Regions from separate parts of the Homo sapiens genome. Here all the other regions are linked to region 1. Evidence: promoter capture Hi-C in human tissues and cell types (Jung and others, 2019). All regions are on one chromosome and are shown on one strand. Each heading gives the region's core, a stretch centred on a gene start or on the middle of the fragment in contact. The rest is flanking DNA. Distances are from core to core; before and after follow the strand shown. Region 1 holds the start of PPP2R5D (protein phosphatase 2 regulatory subunit B'delta). Region 2 has its middle 4.8 kb from the start of ZNF318. Region 3 overlaps UBR2 (ubiquitin protein ligase E3 component n-recognin 2). Region 4 holds the start of DLK2 (delta like non-canonical Notch ligand 2).

What was found. The method cuts DNA at HindIII sites, captures the fragments that hold promoters and counts their contacts. A contact is called where the count stands out against the background at its distance.
Region 2: a fragment that was not itself captured here is called in contact with the fragment with the promoter of PPP2R5D in region 1 in 1 of the 25 tissues and cell types used here (pancreas).
Region 3: a contact is called between a fragment that was not itself captured here and the fragment with the promoter of PPP2R5D in region 1, in 1 of the 25 tissues and cell types used here (stomach).
Region 4: a contact is called between the fragment with the promoter of DLK2 here and the fragment with the promoter of PPP2R5D in region 1, in 1 of the 25 tissues and cell types used here (IMR-90 fibroblasts).

The regions. Positions count from the first base shown.
Region 1 is chr6:42,982,172-42,987,685 of GRCh38, forward strand. It overlaps PPP2R5D (protein phosphatase 2 regulatory subunit B'delta), which reads left to right and starts at 2,399. Exons shown (of 16, transcript NM_006245.4): 1 at 2,399-2,533. The coding sequence starts at 2,507. It overlaps LOC124900215 (a long non-coding RNA gene), which reads right to left and starts at 2,143. Exons shown (of 2, transcript XR_007059580.1): 1 at 1,661-2,143. RefSeq lists an enhancer at 2,178-2,297 and silencers at 2,448-2,517, 2,608-2,757. The HindIII fragment of the contact is 19,136 bases long and covers 841-5,514 here.
Region 2 is chr6:43,371,828-43,377,069 of GRCh38, forward strand. No RefSeq gene overlaps it. Among named protein-coding and RNA genes, the nearest start is that of ZNF318, 4.8 kb to the left of the region's middle. RefSeq lists an enhancer at 4,854-5,073. The HindIII fragment of the contact is 7,073 bases long and covers 91-5,242 here.
Region 3 is chr6:42,612,594-42,618,157 of GRCh38, forward strand. UBR2 (ubiquitin protein ligase E3 component n-recognin 2) reads left to right here. Exons shown (of 47, transcript NM_001363705.2): 9 at 2,478-2,585; 10 at 3,409-3,497; 11 at 4,816-4,914. Among named protein-coding and RNA genes, the nearest start is that of UBR2, 51 kb to the left of the region's middle. The HindIII fragment of the contact is 5,356 bases long and covers 1-4,597 here.
Region 4 is chr6:43,452,252-43,457,153 of GRCh38, forward strand. It overlaps DLK2 (delta like non-canonical Notch ligand 2), which reads right to left and starts at 3,297. Exons shown (of 6, transcript NM_023932.4): 1 at 3,144-3,297; 2 at 2,499-2,629; 3 at 2,160-2,223; 4 at 754-884. The coding sequence starts at 2,574. RefSeq lists enhancers at 2,276-2,325, 3,954-4,795 and silencers at 2,856-2,935, 2,966-3,015, 3,116-3,355. The HindIII fragment of the contact is 12,339 bases long and covers 1-4,902 here.

The DNA of each region.
Region 1 (5,514 bases), core at 1,149-3,648:
CAGGTTTTGTGTTTTTTTTTTTTTTTTTCAGATGGAGTCTTGCCCTGTCGCCCAGGCTGGAATGCAATGGTGCGATCTCGGCTCACTGCAAACTCCACCTCCCGGGTTCAATGGATTATCCTGCCTCAGCCTCCTGAGTAGCTGGGATTACAGGCACCCACCGTCATGCCTGGCTAATTTTTGTATTTTTGTAGAGACGGGGTTTTGCCATGTTGGCCAGGCTGGTCCTGAACTCCTGACCTCAGGTGATCCGCCCTCCTCAGTCTCCCAAAGTGCTGGGATTACAGGCGTGAGCCACTGCGCCTGACCTTTTTTTTTTTTAAGACTAAATATTTTATTTTATATAGAATTTTAAAAATTTATTTTTTGTACATGAATAAGTTCTTTAGTGGTGATTTATGAGATTTTGATGCAGCCATCACCCAAGCAGTGTATACTGTACCCAATGTGTAGTATTTTTTTTTTTTTTTGAGACGGAGTCTTGCTCTGTCGCCCAGGCTGGAGTGCAGTGGCATGATCTAGGCTCACTGCAACCTCTGCCTCCCGGGTTCACGCCATTCTCCTGCCTCAGCCTCCCGGGTAGCTGGGACTACAGGCGCCTGCCACCACGCCCGGCTATTTTTTTGTATTATTTTAGTAGAGACGGGGTTTCATCGTGTTATCCAGGATGGTCTCGATCTCCTGACCTCGTGATCCGCCCGCCTCGGCCTCCTAAAGTGCTGGGATTACGGGCGTGAGCCACCGCGCCCGGCCTCCATTGTATCATTCTCATGCCTTTGCATCACAGGTTTCTTCTTTTTTTTTTGTAGACGGAGTCTTGCTCTGTCGCCCAGGCTGGAGCGCAGTGGCATGATCTCGGCTCACTGCAACCTCCACCTACCGGGGTCAAGTAATTCTCCTGCCTCAGCCTCCTACCGGGTTCAAGTGATTCTCCTGCTTCAGTCTCCCGAGTAGCTGGGACTACAGGCGCGCGCCACCACGCCCCGCTAATTTTTGTATTTTTCATAGAGGCATGGTTTCACCATGTTGGCCGGGATGGCCTCGATCTCTTGACTCGTGATCCGCCCACCTCGGCCTCCCAAAGTGCTGGGATTACAGGCGTGAGCCACCGCACCCTGTCTAATTTTTGTATTTTTAGTAGAAATGGGGTTTCACCACTATGGTCAGGCTGGTCTCAAACTCCTGACCTCGTGATCTGCCCACTTTGGTCTCCCAAAGTGTTGGGACTACAGGCGTGAGCCACCGAGCCTGGCCACAGGTTTATTCTTTTTGTCGTCATTGTTGCTGTTTTGAGACAGAGTCTTGCTCTGTCGCCCAGGCTGGAGTGCAGTGGTGTGATCTCGGCTCACTGCAACCTCCGTCTCCCGGGTTCAAGTGATTCTCCTGCCTCAGCCTCCCGAGTAGCTGGGATTACAGGCGTGCACCACCACACCCAGCTAATTTTTGTATTTTTAATAGAGACGGGGTTTCGCCATGTTGGCCAGGCTGGTCTCGAACCTCTGACCTCAGGTGATCCTCCTGCCTCAGCCTCCCAAAGTGTTGGGATTACAGGCGTGAGACACCGTGCCTGCCTGGTTTACATTCTCTCTTAATCCTTTGTTTATACACATCTGTGATTCACCAGACTGCGAACTCTTTGTGGGCATAAACTGAGTCTTACCCATTAGAACACGGACTTGAGCAGGGTGGCAAGTAAGGGATGGATTTCCTGAGACAGTCAACAATGAAGTTGCTTTTCCACTGCGTTCCCAACTGCTCAAATCTAGCTGGTTCCCCAATCCCAGTACACTTGCAGTAGCAACGGGGACCCTCTTCCTAAAGTTGCACCAAGCCAGGGATTCTCCACTCATTTCGCCCAGGTCCTAGCCCTGCCAGGCTTCCCCTTTGCTCCTCTGCAACCCCTGTCTAGGGAGGCGGGTGTCTTGGAAGGTCCTTGGGAGCTCCCTCCATCAATTTTGCATCTGCAATTAGGGCTACTTTACCCCAGTGAAGAAAGGTGCCCTCCGTATTAGGGCTTCCTTCCTCCAATTCCGACTGGACAGGGTAGCAGAGCGGGCAAAGTGTGAGAGCCTTTAGAAGGAAAGAGCAGGGCTCCAAGCGCCGCGAAGAATGGCCGAGGCCGACGCACAGCAGACGCTGGAGTGCAGCCCTCCTAGCCAAGCTTGGGTTTCCCCTTATCCCCGCCTCCTTCTCTAAGCTCGACCCACTTTAGGGCGGGACCACCCACTTCAGCCAATTCTGGAAGCCGAACCCTGGCGGTTTGTACTATTTCTTTCCAATAAGAAAAAAAGGAAGCAGCTTGGCTCCAATGACCAATCCGAGGAGGCGGCGCCTGGTTGTCAGGCAGTTTTGTAGGAGTTCGGGCCAATTGGAGGCGCAGGCACCGCTCGACCCGGGCGCAGCGCGCAGGCGGTGGCGAAGAGACGCCGAGCGGGCCGAGTGCGGCCGAGCAAAGCCGGAGCCGGAGCGGGGCCGCAGGAGACGGGCCGGGTCCGGACGGGCCGAGATGCCCTATAAACTGAAAAAGGAGAAGGTGAGCGTGGCCCTTTTTCCCCCACCGCCGCCTTGGAGCCTGCGCGGAGCTCTGGGAGGGGCCGGAGCCAGGCCCGGGACAGCCCCAGACTGACCCTCCCGTCCAGCCCCCGCAGGACTCCTGGGGCCAGCCCTCCGCCCCCGCGGCTGGCAGCACCCCCAGCTTGTGCCGCAGCTAGGACAGCTCCCCCACCTTGCCCCGGAGAGACTCCCCCCACATACACCTCCCTCCCTTCTTCCCTTCTCTTACCCCCGGCCCAGGGTAACCTCCTTCTTCCAGATCTGCCCCATTCCCAGGTCACTGTCCTGCTTTTTCTGTCCCCCCCATCACCCCTGGCCCCGATCCCCCTTCGGTTTGGGCAGCCCCTCATCTGAAACTGCACCTTCCTCCAGAATTGCCCCCTCGCCCCGCCCTGAGCAGCCCCTTGTCTCCTCTTCCTACCCGCCTGGGACAGCCGCCCCGCAGTCCCCTACGGCCCCTTCTCTTTCCATGCCAAGCCCCTGACCTAGAACAGCGCTGCTTTCTCTCTCCTCCACCCAAATCTGGCCTAGGCCCCTCCCTCTAGTTCTTCCTTCACACACAAACTTGTAAGCAGGACTGAGCCCTTCTGTTGATGGAACCTCACAACGTTGGTGCTGGAAGGGACCTCTGAGCGCATGCAGTGCAATCCCTAATGGTACAGATGAGGAGACTGAGGCCCCGACAGGGCAAGGGACTTGTCCAAGGTCACACAGCCTGCTGGAGGCCCAGCTGCAATATCAGGTCTCCTGACTTAAAGGCCTCTTTTGTATCAAAGCCCTCCTAACTGTCACCCAAGTGCATCCTAGACCAGTCACCTTTCCTAATCTGAGTAGGCTCCTCACCCTTATTCTTAATCCTAGGATAACCTTTGCATTTTTCCTTTTTTTTTTTCTTTTCGCACCAGTGCTGGATTTCTGCCTTTCCTAAGCTACACCATCTTCAAATTGGGAATTTGTCCTCACTGTCAGATTATTGTTCCTTCTTAGCCTGCAGGCCAGCCACCCCTGAACACCCATGTCTTTATCATGATGTCCTGACACAGGCCATTTCTTTTTTTTTTTTTTTTTTTGAGATGGAATTTTGCTCTTGTTGCCCAGGCTGGAGTGCAATGGCGCGATCTCGGCTCACCACAACCTCTGCCTTCTAGCTTCAAGCGATTCTCCTGCCTCAGCCTCCCAAGTAGCTGGAATTACAGGCATGCGCCACCACATCCGGCTAATTTTGTATTTTTAGTAGAGACGGGGTTTCTCCATGTTGATCAGGCTGGTCTTGAACTCCTGACCTCAGGTGATCTGACCCCCTCGGCCTCCCAAAGTGCTGGGATTACAGGTGTGAGCCACCGTGCCTGGCCCACAGGCCAGTTCTTAATGTTGCCTTCTTTCACCTTCCTCATCTACCTCGGTGCTGCCTTCCCCTGCTCCTCATCCGTGCCTTTTTCTACCCTCTGTTTCCTGCTGTTGCTGAGGTCTGACTCAGAGGTGTGGTTCCTTTGAGGTACAGACTCACACATAGGATGCTAGGATACCAGTTCCAGCCTCCCCCAGCTTCTCCTCTCCTGGGGCTGGCCCTTTTTGGTGGGGGTTGGCTCTGGCCTGGTGTTCTGGCCACCTGCTCGATGACCCCAGAGGTATATTGCTTTCATTTGCCCTCTGATTGGCTGGGTTACTGGGCTGCCATCTCTGACCTTTTCAATCAAACTTTTTCTCCTGGGGCTGTTCTGTATTTGCCAGGCAGCTCTGATTCTGAGTTGTCCCCTTAACCTTTCAGGGCCTGAGGTTCTAAGTACAGGGTTGGTGATGGTGTACTAGATAGTGAGCCTCCTGGGAGTAGTGAGCTGGACAGGGTTTTGTGCCCCACCCAGGCCCTGTCCTTGGGGAGTGGGCATGCGGAGGTGGTTTGGGTAGCTCAGTCGTAGACAATGCACACAGAAATCAGCCACAACAGGGGCTAAGGGAAATGGAATTCGGGGAAAGCTGGTGAGGTCCCCACCCATTTGTAATTTTTAGTCTGTTGGACTAGATACTGTCCCATCCACAGAAAGCAATAGCCTACTAGATTGTGAAGAAGACAAATTGCCAGTGAGATTTGCTAGGACCATGGGTGTAAACGTTTGGTTGGGAAAGGGTGTTGGAAGTAACGGGGTGCATGGAGCCAGGCATAACTCTCACCTCCCTATAAGGTTTTTCTGCTCTTGATTTTCAGTTGCATTTGGCCTTCTTCAATGGTTGGCAGGCTCTAAGGGGCAGGGGGGTTGCCAGTGTGACTGAGGTTTGTCTGGATGGCTGTGGGTGGAGGATCTTTATTGCTCATCTATGACCTGTCCCCTCTCTCCTGGCCATCTTTCACAGCTTCCTCTCTAAAGCCTTTCTGAGCCCTCAGTCAGGAGTGAACTCTCCTTTCTTTTCTGGATTTGCAGAACACTTAGTAGGCCACTTATGGTCCTTTTGTGTTTGGCCTTGGATGGGAATTAATTGTGGACAAGACTTTTCTTCCCCTTTGAGATAATAACTAAGTTTCATTTTGGTTTGACAACTCCTTTTCACACGGTAAGTACGTGCTTAGTGGATAGGTGCTAAGATAATCTCTTGGAGGGATTCGCATCTCTCCTCTTCCTTCATGTTCTCCTCTGGGACTTACCTCTTTTATTTTCCTGAGTAGGGTGCCCCTGCCCCCTCCGATTTTTTTCTTGTTCATAATAATAGTAATAACATTGACCAGCACTACGGTTTTCATGTGCCTTAACACTGTGCTGAGGGAAGAGGGTATTATGATTGTCATCATCTAATAGATGAGGAAACTGAGGCTCAGAGAGGCTAGTTAACTTGCCTGTGATTACACAGCCAGTAAGAGTTGGGCCCAAAACACAGGGCTGAGTCCAAACATGTTCTTTTAACCTCTGTGCTACACAGCATTTGACTACTGAGCTGGGCTGAAATGTGTGTGCTTCACCTGTTCTGCAG
Region 2 (5,242 bases), core at 2,377-4,876, 390 kb after region 1:
TTACCTTCCAAAATCGGTTCCCTATGGACAAGGAGGAATCACAAATGTTGGCTTTTCTCTCTTATGCACCTTTGTGGGCTTTTTTAGAACTCTCTTGCTGGCAGTGGTCCTCCTCTGGTTCACTGTCTATGACTCCCCTCCCCCAAGTCTTTGGCCTTCTGGAGGAGGTTTACCCCATGTAAAACTCACTCCCGTGGCAGGAGTCCCTTTCCTCTCTGGTTATCTCTCATGGGACGGATCCCTTTTATTTTGTTTTGTTTTTTTTTTTTTTTTTTTTTTTTTTTTTGAGACAGAGTCTCGCTCAGTCGCCCAGGCTGGAGTGCAGTGGCTCGATCTCCGCTCACTGCAAGCTTCGCTTCCTGGGCTCACGCCATTCTCCTGCCTCAGCCTCCCGAGTAGCTGGGACTATAGGCACCCGCCACCATGCCCAGCTAATTTTTTTGTATTTTTTTTAGTGGAGACGAGGTTTCACCGTGTAAGCCAGGATGGTCGCGATCTGCTGACCTCGTGATCCGCCCGCCTCGGCCTCCCAAAGTGCTGGGAAGGTGGCATGAGCCACCGCACGCGGCCTGGGAAGGATCTCTTTTAAATGACTCCAAGTTCGTTAGCTTGTGTGTCCACTTGGCTCACAGGATAACTCATGCATCTTTGCCCCAGTGGCGAAGGCAGTGCAGCTCACTCCCCATGGCTCCCACCTTATTCACCATCCCAGCACAGTTAGCCAGCATCTTGCTTTTGGACTTCCCCCAGGTAGGGGTTAAGACACTATCCCTGTGGATCTCCAAACTCCAGGAGACACAAGCCAAACATTCTAAGAGGTTCTAGTAGAAGGCTTTATCTCACTTGGCTCCCCTCTCCCGCCCCAGAGTGGCAGGAGAGGAAATACAGAGCCCACAGGTAACTGTCCGACACAATCTTCATTCTCTTATATAGACTGAGGGTGGATGATTAGTAATGCTGGCAGACTAGTTCATATTCTATCATCACCCTTTAAGATGGGGGAATGGGAGTACCTGGCATCTGTTGTATTGCCTTCTATTTTTGAGGCCTTTGCTGAAACTCCAGAGACAATAGGAAGAACCCAGTTAACGTACCGTCCCTGTTGTCTGTCATCAATTCAAGAAATTTTTATGAGACTTCTGATGAAGATGGTGAAATGTGTAAAGGCTTTCACACATACACACATACCACCCCATAGTAGACATACCGCAATGACATATAAAACCTTAAAAGAGAAAAGTAAGGAGACTAGGATGTATGCTATGGACTGAATTGTGTTTCCCCCACCACTACTCCAAATTCATTTGTTAAAGCCCTAACCCCCAATGTGATGCTATTTGGAGAAGAGTCCTTTGGGAGGTAATTAGGGTCAGATGAGGTCATGAGGGTAGGGCCCCCATGATGATAGTGTCTTTATAAAGAGAGGAAGAGACACCCATGCCCTCTCTCTGCTATGCAAGCACACAGTGAGAAGGCAGTGTCTACAAACCAGGAAGAGAGCACTCACCAGGAACTAAATTGGCTAGCACCTTGGTCTTGGACATTCCAGCCTCTAGAACTGTAAGAAATAAGCACGTGTTGTTGAAGCCACCCAGCCTTACGGTATTTTGTTACAGCAGCTCAAAACAGCTAATACACTCTGAAACGAGATAACCACCTCCCCATGGACCTCATGGGCTTTGAAATGAGTCTAGAATCAAGGGTAGCAGTTAGAGATTTGGCTCCTGTGAGATAATGGAAATGTAAGTGCTCCTCAGGAGGTGGAGGACCTGGGACAGATTTTTAGCTTAAAGCCAAGGACATGCCTGTCCCTACATGCGAGCTGAACAAATTACTGCCAGCCTTCTGCTTGGGGCTAAGTTTCATGGGAATGTGCCATGTGGGTGGGAAGATAAAAATATTGACAGCCTTTAAACAAGAACTGAGCCTAGACACTCCCTGCTCAGTGACTGGAATGGTAATATCCTAATATTACCAATATTACCTATACACCAGTAATAACTAATTAGAAAATACGATTCTGAGGCCAGCTGTGGTGGCTCATGCCTGTTAATGCCAGCACTCTGGGAGGCTGAGGCAGGCAGATCACCTGAGGTCGGGAGTTCGAGACCAGCCTGGTCAACATGGCGAAACCCCATCTCTACTAAAAATAAAAAAATTAGCCAGGCATGGTGGCGGGTGCCTGTAATCCCAGCTACTCAGGAGGCTAAGGCAGGAGAATAGCTTGAACCCGGGAGGCAGAGTTTTCAGTGAGCCGAGATCACACCACTACACTCCAGCCTGGGTGACAAAGGAGACTCTATCTCAAAAAAAAAAGGAAAGAAAGAAAATATGAGTCTGGCCAGGCGCAGTGGTTCACACCTGTAATCCCAACACTGTGGGAGGCCGAGGCAGGCGGATCACTTGAGGTCAGGAGTTCAAGACTAGCCTGGCCAACATAGTGAAACTCTGTCTCTACTAAAAATACAAAAATTAGCTGGGCATGGTAGTCTGGCTACCTTAGCACGCTTGTAGTCCCAGCTACTCAGGAGGCTGAGGCAGGAGAATCGCTTGAATCTGGGAGGCGGAGGTTGCAGTGAGTCGAGATCTTGCCACTGCATTCCAGCCTGGGTGACACAGTGAGACTCCACCTCAAAAAAAGAAAAGAAAATATGATTTTTCTGCTGGACACAGTGGCAGGTACCTATAATCCCAGCTACTCAGGAGACTAAGGCAGGAGTTTTCACCTGAGCCCAGGAGCCCGAGGTTAGCCTGGACAACAAAGCAAGACCCTGTCTCTGGAAAAGGAAGAAGAGAGAAAATATGATTTTCTGTTAAACATGGTGGATTCAATCATGCATGTATCACTATTACATCCATAACCTCTGTCTCAAAAAACAAAAAAAAAAAAGCTCTGGCCAGGCGCAGTGGCTCACGTCTGTAATCCCAGCACTATGAGAGGCTGAGACAGGTGGATCACTTGAGGTCAGGAGTTCGAGACCAGCCTGACCAACATGGTGAAACCCCATCTCTACTAAAAAATACCAAAAAATTGGCCAGGGGTGGTGGTGGGTGCCTGTAATCCCAGCTACTTAGGAGGCTAAGGCAGGAGAATCACTTGAACCCGGGAGGTGGAGATTGCAGTGAGCCGAGATCGTGCCACTGCACTCCAGCCTCAGTGACAGAACAAGATTCCATCTCAAAAAAAAAAAAAAAAAAAAGTGCTCAAAAGAGGATATTCAAATGATTACTAAATATATGAAACCTCAATCGTGAAAATGTAAATTAAAACCATAACAAAATAGCACTTCACACCAACATAGTTAACATTGCAGATATTGGTGAGGGTGTAGAACAAGGGACATTCTTCTACACTGTGTAAATCAGTGCCACCACTCTGGAAAACAGGTTGGCATTTCTACTAAAGTTGAAAATGACTACACAATTTTGTTCCTAAGTATATATCCTACAGAAATGCATACAAGGTATACCAGCAGTTACGTACAAGAACGTTCACAGCAGCTTTCTCTGTAATTGCCAAATACTAAAAAAAGTCCACATATTCTACAACAGTAAAATGAATAAATTTGGGGATGTTTATACAATGGCATACTATTCAGCATTGAAAATTAACAGACTGCTTCACTCAACAACATAAATGAATCTGAAAAACATAATGTTGAGTTAAAGAAAATAGATGCAAAACAATACATTGCATAATTCCATTTATATAGCTTTTTTGTTTTGTTTTGGTTTTGTTTTGAGACAGGGTCTCTCTCTGTCACCCAGTCTAGAGTGATGTGTCCCAATCATGGTTCACTGCAGTCCCAAACTCTTTGACTCAAGGGATCCTCCTGCCTCAACCTCCAAGTAGGTAGGACTACAGGCATGTGTTATCGTACTCGGATAATTTTTTTTCTTTTTTCTTTTTTTTTTTCAAGACAGGGTTAACTATGTTGCCTAGACTGGTGTTGAACTCCTGGCCTCAAGCAGTCCTCCTGCCTCAGCCTCCCAAAGTGCTGGGATTACCACCATACCCGGCTAAATTGTCAAAACTAAACTACAGTGGATAGGAGTGCATTCTTAGTGGTAAACCACTATAAAGAAAATGAAGCTAAAAACCATAAAAATCAGCATGGTGGTCACCCTGAGGATGGAAGAGAGGGCATTGTAATTAGACAGAACAATGGGAGGAGCTTCTGGGGTATTGAGCTCGTTCCATATATTAATCTGGGTGGTTGTTTTTCCACAGATACTAGCTTTTTAATAATTCAGTTAGCTGTACATTTATTTATTTATTTATTTATTTATTTATTTATTTATTTAGAGATGGAGTCTTGCTCTGTAGCTCAGGCTGGAGTGCAATGGTACGATCTCGGCTCACTGCAGCCTCTGCCTCCTGGGTTCAAGTGCTTCTCCTGCCTCACCCTCCTGAGTAGCTGGGATTACAGGCATGTGCCACCACACCTGGCTAATTTTTGTAGTTTTAGTAGAGACAGGGTTTCACCATGTTGGCCAGGCTGGTCTTGAACTCCTGACCTCAGGTCATCCGCCCACCTCGGCCTCCCAAAGTGCTAGGATTGCAGGCGTGAGCCACCACACCCATTCTGTACATTTATTTTTATATACTTTTATGTATACATGTAATTTTTCACAATTAAAAGAGCTAGAGACAGAAGACAAACCTGTATCCTAAGAAATGTGAAGCTTGAATAGCACTATCTGTGTGCTAACAAGCAATTTGTTTCTCAGATATGCTAGTCAGCCACCAAAATGGCCCCTAATGATCCCTGTCTCTTGGTATTCACTCCCTGGTATGGGCTCCTCCCATATTGTACAAAGGTTGGTCTGTGTGACCAATAGAATATGACAGAGGTGATATGTATCATGTCCAAGATTAGGTTATTAAAGCCATTGTGGCTTCCATTTTGAGCACACTTTCTCTCTCTGGGATCATATGATTTTGGGGGAAAACACCTGCCATGTTGAGCAACCCTATGGAAAACCCCATGTAGTGAGAAACTGAGGTCTCCTGACAACAGAAGCAAGGAATTGAGGCCTCCAGGCAACAGCCATGTGGGTGAGTCATCTCACAAGCAGATACTCAAGTATATCAAGCCTTCAGATGACTGCGGCCCAAGCCAATATCTTGAGTGCATCTTCTTGAGAGACCCTGAGCCAGGACCATCTAGCAAATCACTTCCATAGTCCTCATCCTCAGAAACTGTGAGATAAAAGTGCTTGTTTTAGGCTGCCAACCTGG
Region 3 (5,564 bases), core at 670-3,169, 370 kb before region 1:
ATTTTTTTTTAAACTTTTTTTAGTGGAGCATTTTGCAGAACTCTTCTACTGAGTAAGCTGGAAAAATGCTGCTGTAAATAAAAACCTAAGTGATTAGCTGTTTAAACGATAAAACACTAATGTTGATTTATGTGATTTGACTCCAACAACTTTGGTTACCAATAATTTGCAACACTGAAAATTTGTAAATTGGAAGTTACCAATTTGCGTTTTTAAAAAATTTTTGGCCAGGTGCCATGGCTCATGCCTGTAATCCTAGCACTTTGGGAGGCCAAGGTGGGTGGATAACCTGAGGTCAGGAGTTCAAGACCAGCCTGACCAACATGGCAAAACCTCATCTCTACTAAAAATACAAAAATTAGCCAGGCGTGGTGGCATGTTCCTGTAATCCCAGCTACTCAGGAGGCTGAGGCAGGAGAATCACTTGAACCCAGGAAGCAGAGGTTGCAGTGAGCCAACATCACGCCACTTTGCTCCAGCCTGGGCAAAAGAGTGAAACTCTGTTTCAAAAAAAAAAAAATTCCAGAGTCTAGAAATTCGGTCATTTTTCTCTTTATGTAATGGTAAGAATTAAGAATCCTCACATCTGCAACCAAAAATACAAGCCTGGTGTGTAACACTAAAGGGTAAAACAGGGATAGATATAAGCTGTTATGCTATTCTTCAGGCAACACTGTGGATAAGTGACATTCAGATGTTTACTGTAAAGAAAAATTTGAATACATTTGTATTGAAGGGCTTTTAGAAAAGAGCATTACTACACAGAACTGAGAGTTGAAAATATGAAGGTGTGGAAGATTAAGAGAACGCGTTTACTTTAAAAGATAATTTAAAAGTTATCTTTCCAGGCTGACACGGTGGCCCACTCCTCTAGTCATAACACTCTGGGAGGCTGTGGTGGGACGATCCCTCGAGCCCAGGAGTTCATAGACCAGCCTGGGTAATATAGGGAGACCCCATCTCTATCTAAAATTTTTTTTAAAAGAAAATAAATATCTTTACAGTTATTTTTCTTAGTCCTATGTTCTTTATTTTGGTGTTTTCCATTGGATACCTGCATGCCAAGTGTTGTGCTACAGTATTACTGAAGAGTATAATGGAAGTAATGTCCTGCTGAAAATTTTCTTTGAGATATTAATCATTAATAATTTATATATTGCTATTTAATACTTACATAGGTCTTTAGCCTTTTAAAGGATTTCTGTTTGACAGCTTTTATAATTGAAAGTTATTCCATTTTTTTTTTAATTTTGCATGCTTGAAAAAGATGAAAACAGTGATTTAAATTATGAAGTATGGGGCCAGGTGCAGTGGCTCATGCTGGTAATCCCAGCACTTTGAGAGGCTAAGGCAAGTGGGTCACTTGAGCCCAAGAGTTCAAGACCAGCCTGGCCAACATGGTGTGAAACCCCGTCTGTACTAAAAATACAAAAATTAGCCAGGCGTGGTGGTGCATGCCTGTAATCCCAGGTACTTGGGAGGCTGAGGCACAGGAATTGCGTGAACCCAGGAGGCAGAGGTTGCAGTGAGCCAAGATCACATCACCGCACTGCAGCCTGGGTGACAGAGTAAGACTCTGTCTCCAAAAAAAAAAAAAAAAAAAAAAAAAAAACTATATATATATACACACACACACACACACACACACACACGCGCGCACATATATATACACACACACGTACATATATATGTATGCATGTACATATATGTGCGTATATGGGTATGTATATATGTGTATATGTGTATGTGTGTATGTATGTGTGTATATATGTGTGTATGTGTGTATATATGTATGTACGTACATACATACGTATGTATGTACGTACGTACATATATATGTATGTACGTACATATATATGTATGGAACAAATAAGTGTTAAAGCTTTGGTTATTTTAATGCTTATATTAATATTTGAAGAACGTTTCTGAAGTTTACATTTAAAAGGTTGTAGTAATATGTTTTCCAGGGTCTCACATGCCAAGTCCACAATAAGTTTTTGTTTAATGAATGAAGAATTTTTTCTGTAGCATTAATAAAATGCATTGCTATATATTATAATGCAGAAGTCATGCATTCCTCCTTTTAAATGGTAGCACATTTTATATTTCAATTATGGAATGTATAACACTTTCACTGTAATCTGGTTTAATTAGCATAAGTGCTTGAAGAACAATATTAAGTGGTTTTTTGGATGTTTTTCTCTTTAATTAAATTCATTAAAGCACAAGAGGTTATTGCCTTTATGATAGGCATATATTTTGACTTTCAGGAGTAATGGTGTGTGATGTGAGATTTGAAATTTATTTCCTTTTTGTTAAAATATTAATAAAACAGTTAATATGTTTGCCTTTTCTGAATAAATTTGAACTTTAAGAAAACATTTAAAACTCTACAGATCCATTTGAACATCTACTAAAATGTCACTATTTTAATATTTGAAGTTGCTATCTCATTCTACCTTTCCTTCTATTTAAAGATGGCCTTCGCCGGATTTTATGTCAAGTTGGTTTACAAGAAGGGCCAGATGGTGAAAACTCTTCTCTAGTGGACAGACTGATGCTTAGTGATTCCAAATTATGGAAAGGTGAATCTCTTAACTACTTTTAAGGTGTAGAGGAACCTATATAAGTAATTGGGATGTGAAAGGTTTTTATCATTTGGGAAGATATTTAATACATATATTTGTGCTTCTTAAAATTAGCATTGCAGTCTTAGTCTTTGAAAAATATAGATTTGGTGGGGTGGGGTCCATGATCCAACTTAAATGGACTTTATATTTTGTTACAGAATTATGTTTAGAAAACTTGGTTTTATAAACAAATTGCAAATATTTTGTGCTAAGGAAAATATGTATTTTGCTCCTTTTTTGAAGGGACAGGATCTCACTCTGTTGCCCAGGCAACAGGAGTGCAGTGGCATGATCATTGATCACTGCAGCCTCCAACTCTTGGACTCAAGCAATCCTCCCTTCTCAGCCTCCCTAGTAGCTGGGACTACATGTACATACCACCATGTATGGCTTTCTTTGTTTTTGAGACTTAAAATACAAGCCAGTCTCAGTGGTGTGTGCCTGTAGTCTCAGCTACACAGGAGGCTGAGGCAAGAGGATCACTTGAGCTAGGAGTTTGAGTTCAGCCTGGGCAACAAAGCAAGACCCTAAAAAAAAAAAAAAATGCTGTGTTGGCTGGGCATGGTGGTTCACATTTGTAATGCCAGCACTGTGGGAGGCCAAGGCAGGAGGATCGCGTGAGCCCAGGAGTTAAGACCAGCCTGGGCAACACAGCAAGACACTGTCTCAAAAGTAAAAACAAAACAAAACAAAAAAAACCCACTGTGGATCACATAACACTTGAGAAATGTAATTGTTGGGCGTGTCCTTATCTTATACCGTGATCTTTTTCTACAAGGTGCTAGGAGTGTATATCATCAGTTGTTCATGAGCAGTCTGCTTATGGATTTGAAATACAAGAAACTATTTGCTGTTCGATTTGCAAAAGTAAGTGGCTTTTCAATTTTGAAAATAGGTTATATATAGAGTAACTATGCCCATAATTATATCTAGGCTTCAAAAAATTAACATCTAATAGTAATATGTCAATGTGTTGATATTAAATTCTAAGAAACTTCATAAATAATCTTTTCATTCTTTATCAATAGAATAAAATTTTAGCCGTGAGACTCCTTGTTCATCACCTCCTATAACATGAGTATCTATTATACAATGTTTATGAAATAATAAATGAAGAGTTTAAACCTATGCCATTGTGAATTATGGTATTTTTTTCTATTAAAATTCATATAAGGAAACTAATCTCAGTTTAAATGACATATATATGAATATGATTTAATAAATATATTTGTGCATTTTAAAATTAGCATTGCAGTCTTAGTCTTTAAAAAAAAATAGATTTTTTTTTGGAGGGGGGGCATGATCCAAATTAAATAGCCTGTATATTTTGTTAGAAAATTATATTTAGAAAACTTTGATTTTATAAATAGATTGCAAATATTTCATGCTAAGGAAAACATGTATTTTGCTTTTTTTTTTTTTAAGAAACAAGGTCTCTTCAGAACTCTAGGTTATTAATATAGTTAAGTTCTCCCTTTTAGCAGCATGTGCATAAGCTAACCACTTATTTTTTTGCATTCACCTGAATTACGAAGTATATGAGAATCACTTGGAGAGCTCTTTCAAAATACATGTGTTGTGTTCCATTCTCAAATCTACTGAAACAGATTCACCAAGAATGGCGGCCCAAGCATGTATGCTTTGGAAGAGTCATCAGATGATTCTGATATGATGCAGAAGTAATGAAAGTCTGATTTCATCAGAAACAGTGTAATGCTGCTGTGGTTTAGCTCCACCAGCATACAATGACATCTTGGGAGCTTAGTAGCTGTTACTGCCTATTTGGGCTGGTAAACTGCCATTGTGCTCCAGAAGAAAGAATCGATATTTATACAGGATTCCACAGTTTCCATAGTGAATCAATATCTATACAGGATTCTATTGGTAGAAATCATTCCAGTTATTGTTCTCATAGCAGTGTTATCTTCTTGACTTCCTCCAGCACTGACTTTTCATTATAATCCTTAAACATTTGGTCATTGTGGATTAGAGGTGAATCTCCCCCTTGTTGTTTAGAATTACCAGCAGTTGCAGAGAGATTTTATGGAGGATGATCACGAGCGAGCAGTGTCGGTGACTGCTCTATCTGTCCAGTTCTTCACCGCACCTACTCTGGTGAGTAGTGCTTGCCTTTTCTTTGTAACTGATAGCTGGCACTCCTTGCCTTTTTTTGCCTTCTTAATAGAACTATGAGCGTTTGCAGAGTGATTATGTGACAGATGACCACGACAGAGAGTTTTCAGTCGCAGACCTCTCGGTTCAGATATTCACGGTTCCTTCACTTGTAAGTACTGAAAGACTAGAAGAACTTTCTTGTTTTCCATTAACAGAGGCCTTAAAATAATAGAGAACTAAAGTCTGTATATTCCTGAAAAGAATAGTATTTTATTAATGGGTAATCAGACTTCAAACACCTTCACTATTCTTTTACTAGAATATAACCTTGAATATCAAAGTCATCTGGTAGGGGGGAAGTCATTTAAACTTAATTTATACTTTCTCTTCAGAGTAAAGGAGAGGGAAACAATCTACAATTTTTCATAGTACTTCCCTGAGATTTTGAACTGATTAGTTCACATTAAGCCGATTGATTTCACAAATTATCCTTCACGTTAGAATTAGACAGCATATTGTACACCGTCTCACAATTTGAGAAGTCCTCCTCCCACCTCCCTCCCAAAAGGGGAGATGTAGCTAAGGCAATTGAATCCTGATGATTGGATGGTCTTTTACTGAGCTTCACGAGTTGCCCATAAAGGCATCGTTATGTTTTAACGCTATATACATAATTAAAATTCATATTTAATTTGTTCAGCAAATTTAAGAAACACCTATTTATTGGGCACAGTTCTAGACTTTGAGAATGTAACAGTAAACAATAACAAATGTGACCCTTCCCTCATCAAACTTACCATAGTGGGAAAGACTCACATA
Region 4 (4,902 bases), core at 2,047-4,546, 470 kb after region 1:
CAGGAGGCTCCTGGCCCTGGCTCTCAGTCTGTCTCAAACTGACCTTGGGCTGGGTACTGTGGCTCATGCCTGTAATCCCAGCACTTTGGAAGACCAAGGTGGGCAGATGACTTGAGGTCAGGAGTTCAAGACCAGCCTGGCCAACATGGCAAAACCCCATCTCTACTAAAAATACAAACATTAGGCCGGTACAGTGGCTCATGCCTATAATTCCAGCACTTTGGGAGGCCAAGGCGGGTGGATCACTTGAGGTCAGGAGTTCGAGACCAGCCTGGCCAACATGGTGAAACCCTATCTCTACTAAAAATACAAAAATTAGCTGAAGTGGCGGGTGCCTGTAATTCCAGCTACTGGGGAGGCTGAGGCACGAGAATCACTTGAACCCAGGAGGCGGAGGTTACAGTGAGCCGAGATCGCACCACTGCACTCCAGCCTGGGTGACAGAGTGAGACTCCATCTCAAAACAAAACAAACAAAAAAACCTGACTTTGAGCAGGTTATAGCTCTTCTGTGGGCCTTAGTTTCCTCATCTGTAAAATGAGTACAATTTTTAGCAGCTGTGTTTCCTGCCCCATGGGGTTATGTTGAGGATCAATTCAGACAACATATAAAAAGTCTAAGATTTAAAAAAATGATAAAATACCATGTATTTGAGGGTTTGACAAGGACAAAATAGGCACTCAATAAATACTGATGGCTGTTCCCCTAAGAACATGGGGTTCCCAACCAAAAGCTACCCTTCCTCCCCCCTACCTTTGTCACAGAACTTGCCTGCCCAGCCACTGTGGCAGATGCACTGCCATGGCTGGTGGCAGGTACCGTGCTGGCAGCCAGGCATCCTCACACAGCGCTCACAGTGCAGCCCCTCCCAGCCCGGGTCACACCTGACGGGGAGAAGCACAGGGTCAGGGCTCTGGGTCATGGATGTGAAGAAATGGAGGAGACAGAACCAGAGCTTCTAGAAACCAAGAGGACATATGACAGCCCCTAAGGGAAAGCAGACCTGTCCCAGGTAGGTGTAGGACTGTGCAGGGTCATAGGACACATATACGGAATCAGACCATCAGACACCAGCACTCAAACCCTGGTTCTGTACTTTAACCTGAGCCTCAGTTTTCTCACCTGTAAATTGGGGATACACCTTGCAGGGTTGAGTAGAGGAAGAAATAAGATGTCTGTAAATGCCTCCAGTACCCCTCCTGGCATGTCTGAGGTGCTCACAAACATTTAAAGAAGAATGACCTTGAAAGGCCATCAGGGCCGGGGCGTGGTTGCTCACGCCTGTAATCCCAGCACTTTGGGAGGTCGAGGCAGGTGGATCACTTGAGGTCAGGAGTTCAAGACCAGCCTGGCCAACTGGGTGAAACCCCGTCTCTACAAAAAATACAAAAAATTACCCGGGCATGGTGGTGTGCATCTGTAATCCATTATTGAGGAGGCTGAGGCAGGGGAACTTGAACACAAGAGGCAGAGGCTGCAGTGAGCTGAGATCGCGCCACTGCACTCCAGCCTTGGCAACAAAGCGAGACTCTGTCTCAAAAACAAAAAATAAAAATAAAAACAAAAAAGGTCATCAGGACTATCCTCCCACCATGATTCCAGGGCAAACACTTGACCCATATTTTAAAAGCCCTCCAGGGGTGAAGAGTCTCAAAGACCCCCAGCCAATTGAACTACCTGCCTCATCAACTCATTTCCTTATGTCCACTTTCCTCCTGCTACAGAATTTGCCCAATCTCCCAGTGAGTCAACTACTCAAACTCATCAAGAAAGATCCTCTTTCATTGTAAGTGTTTCTCCCCAGCAACTCTCCCTGCAGCATTTCTTTTCCAGGCTAAACCATTTCTCTTTCCCTTTTTCCTTTATCTTTCCATTTCCTCATGGCACCCAATCCCCAAGCTCTCTCAAGCTTTAGGTCTCTCTCCCTGTCAGGAGTTCAGACAATCCCTGGATCAGACTTGGGAGATTAAAGAAGTGGGGAGATAAAAACTAGAAGAAGCAAGAGAGGTGAGGTAAAGGGGAAAGGGGGACTGGCCAGTCAGCCATAGGAGTGATGAGGCATGAAGAGTAGAGTCTGAAGCCCCTAGACACTGTTGTGCACGTGAAGGGCTTAGAAATGGGTACCAAAGGGTTTGGGGGCACGTGCTCAGGACAGGTACCTGCAGGAGCCGTCAGGTGCACAGCAGCCGTGGGCCAGGTCACAGTGGGAGCTGCAGTCATCGGCTGCAAGAGATTGATGTGGGAGGGGTGAGTCTGAGTCAGGGCACAGCTCGCTGGGATGCGGGACTCAGGAGAGGATTGGGGTTCCAGTAACTGAGCGGACTCAACCCTAGGGCAGGACATAACACAGAAACTCATCCCATTCCAAAAAGGCAACCTCGGTCTTGCTTGCCCCGCGGGTCGGAGCGACTGCAGTGCCGCCTCCGGCCGGCAGAGGTCAACGTGCAAGCGAGGACGGCTGGACAGGGCCGCGACTGGAGCCCAGCGGGCGCGCTCACCTCGGACAGGCTGACCGGGAGCCCCCAGAATGCACAACAGGCACACGAGATGCAGGCAGCGGCAGCCGCTGGGCATGGTCAGCGCCGGCCCCAGGAGGGACGGACGGATGGACGGCCGGACGCGTGGACACCTGTGGGACGGCACCGGTTGGGAGGCGGCCGGACGCGGAGATAGCGGCACGGATACGGGTTCCAAGTGACAGGAGCCGACGAGGGAGAGGGGCGCCGGGACAGAAGAAGGGGATGGGGGTAGCGGGAGGATGGGGGCAGGGAAGGGTTGAGCAGGCGAAGAGAGCGAGGAGAGCGAAGACAGGAACCCGGGAGCGGGGTCTGCAAGGAGGGGAAAGATGGGCATCGCGGAGCGAGGCCAGGCGCGGGAATGGCTGGGGTTGGGATCGTAGTCAGGACGGAGGGGTCCGCGGGATGGGGACAGCGCCGAGAGGCGGCCTCGAGCACGGAGGGGACGCGGGGGCCGGAGGGAAGGACGGTTCCCGGCAGCGAGCAGTCTCCGCCCCACAGCTCCGACAGCCCCCCCCCCCGCCACCACCACTCTCTCCCACGTCCCCTTTCTATCTCCGCCGCGCTGGGTTCGGCGGCGGCGCGGGGCCTGGAATCCCCACCGCGCCCTGTCCCCGCAGTCCTCACCTCCGGCGGGGAGGTGGCGCGCCCCGGGGCGCAGAGAGAGGCCGGATCCGACGGGCGCCGCCGAGGGGCCGTGAGGGAGCGCGGGGCCGCCCCTAGCTGGCCGCGGGGCCGGGCGCCGAAGCGGCTGCCATGCGAGCCGAGCGCTCGGGAATCTGGGGCTCCAGGCGACCCCGAGCGGCGGCAGCGGCTGCTCCTCGCGCGCGCTCAGGCCCCCTGCCAGGGGCGGAGCCCGCCCCCACCCCCATCCCCCCCCCCGCGACGCACGGCGCACACCTAGCACCCGGCGCGCCCCGGGGCCCCGGCCCTCCGCGGCTACCCAACGCCCCGAACCCAGCTTCCTTCCAAGAGAGGAGGAAATCTTAGGAGTCTCAATGGGAGCAAACTATTAAGCCAAAGGAGCGCAACCCCGTTATTCTCTCATCTCCCATGCCCACTTTCCCGACCAGCGCTCCGCGGCCCACGCCCCAGCCCTGCCTTCGCTTGTCCGCCGCTCATCACGCTTCTCATATAGATCTATGCACACGCAGGCAATCGCTCCCCGCCCTCCGCCTGTCACCAGCCCACGCCTCCCCGCTTGTAAAGCCTTCATCACCTGCTTCATCTGTGTGCTCCTCTGCTCCTCCTCGCCCTCCGCTTCTTCCTGTCCACGTTGCCGTCTCCAGCCTTCCAAGATCAACCTATCCCTATATAAATATCAACCCGATCCACCCAACCACACCCCGGCCCTACCCCCACCACCCTTCCCTCCCTCAAGTCTCAGCCCTTCCACCCCATTCCTTTTTGTGACTGCCTCTGAGAATCCTTTCTGGACTGGGAATGCCCCTGACTCTGTAAATGTGCACACAAAACCCCCTCCACCGCCAAGTCTTCTCCTGTACCCCATCACGTTCGTCCTTGGCCTCAGGCTAAACCTCAACTGCCCAAACCTGGAGCTCAGATTCAGAGAGTAACGGAGGGGGAGTGGGGGAAAGCTGCCCTCCAGGCCTCTTTGCCCCCTTCTGGCTAATGGCTCAGAGACACATTTCAAGACAAGGACCCAGCCAAGCTCGGTGGGCTCACGCCTATAATTCCAGCACTTTGGGAGGCTGAGGCGGGCGGATCACCTGAGGTCAGGAGTTCGAGACCAGCCTGGCCAACATGGTGAAACCCGTCTCTATTAAAAATACAGAAATTAGCCAGGCGTGGTGGTGCGCGCCTGTAATCCCAGCTACTCGGAAGGCTGAGGCAGGAAAATCGCTTGAAAACCCGGGAGGCAGACGTTGCAGTTAGCCAAGATCGCGCCACTGCACTCCAGCTTGGGGGACAGAGCAAAACTCCGACCCCCGCCCCCCCCCAAAAAAAGACAAGGACCCAGAACATAATTTCTAGTTTGTGCAGGACAACAGGGCAGAGGTCAGGAACGCTAGCGCCCATCTCTAGTCCTTCAGATTGAGATTTCACCATCTTTAAATTCAAAACATCGGAAGGAGCAGTCGCTAGTCGGGGCAGAGCAGCTTCCCACCTTCACACAGCCACCTCCACAGGCACAGAGCCCCAGGGCTCATTTTTCCTGCAGTCTCCATTGGATATAACACTTACACCCACTCAGCTCCCTAGCTGGCCTCCTCTCAGCTGTGATCGCCTCTTCCCTGAAGAGCTCTCTGAATTTGAGTAATGACATGGCTGTACCATTCATTTTGTTTAAACACATTTTTTTTTTTGGTGAAAAATTGCAAACAACCTATAATTCAAAAATTACTGTAGGCAAATAAATTATGGC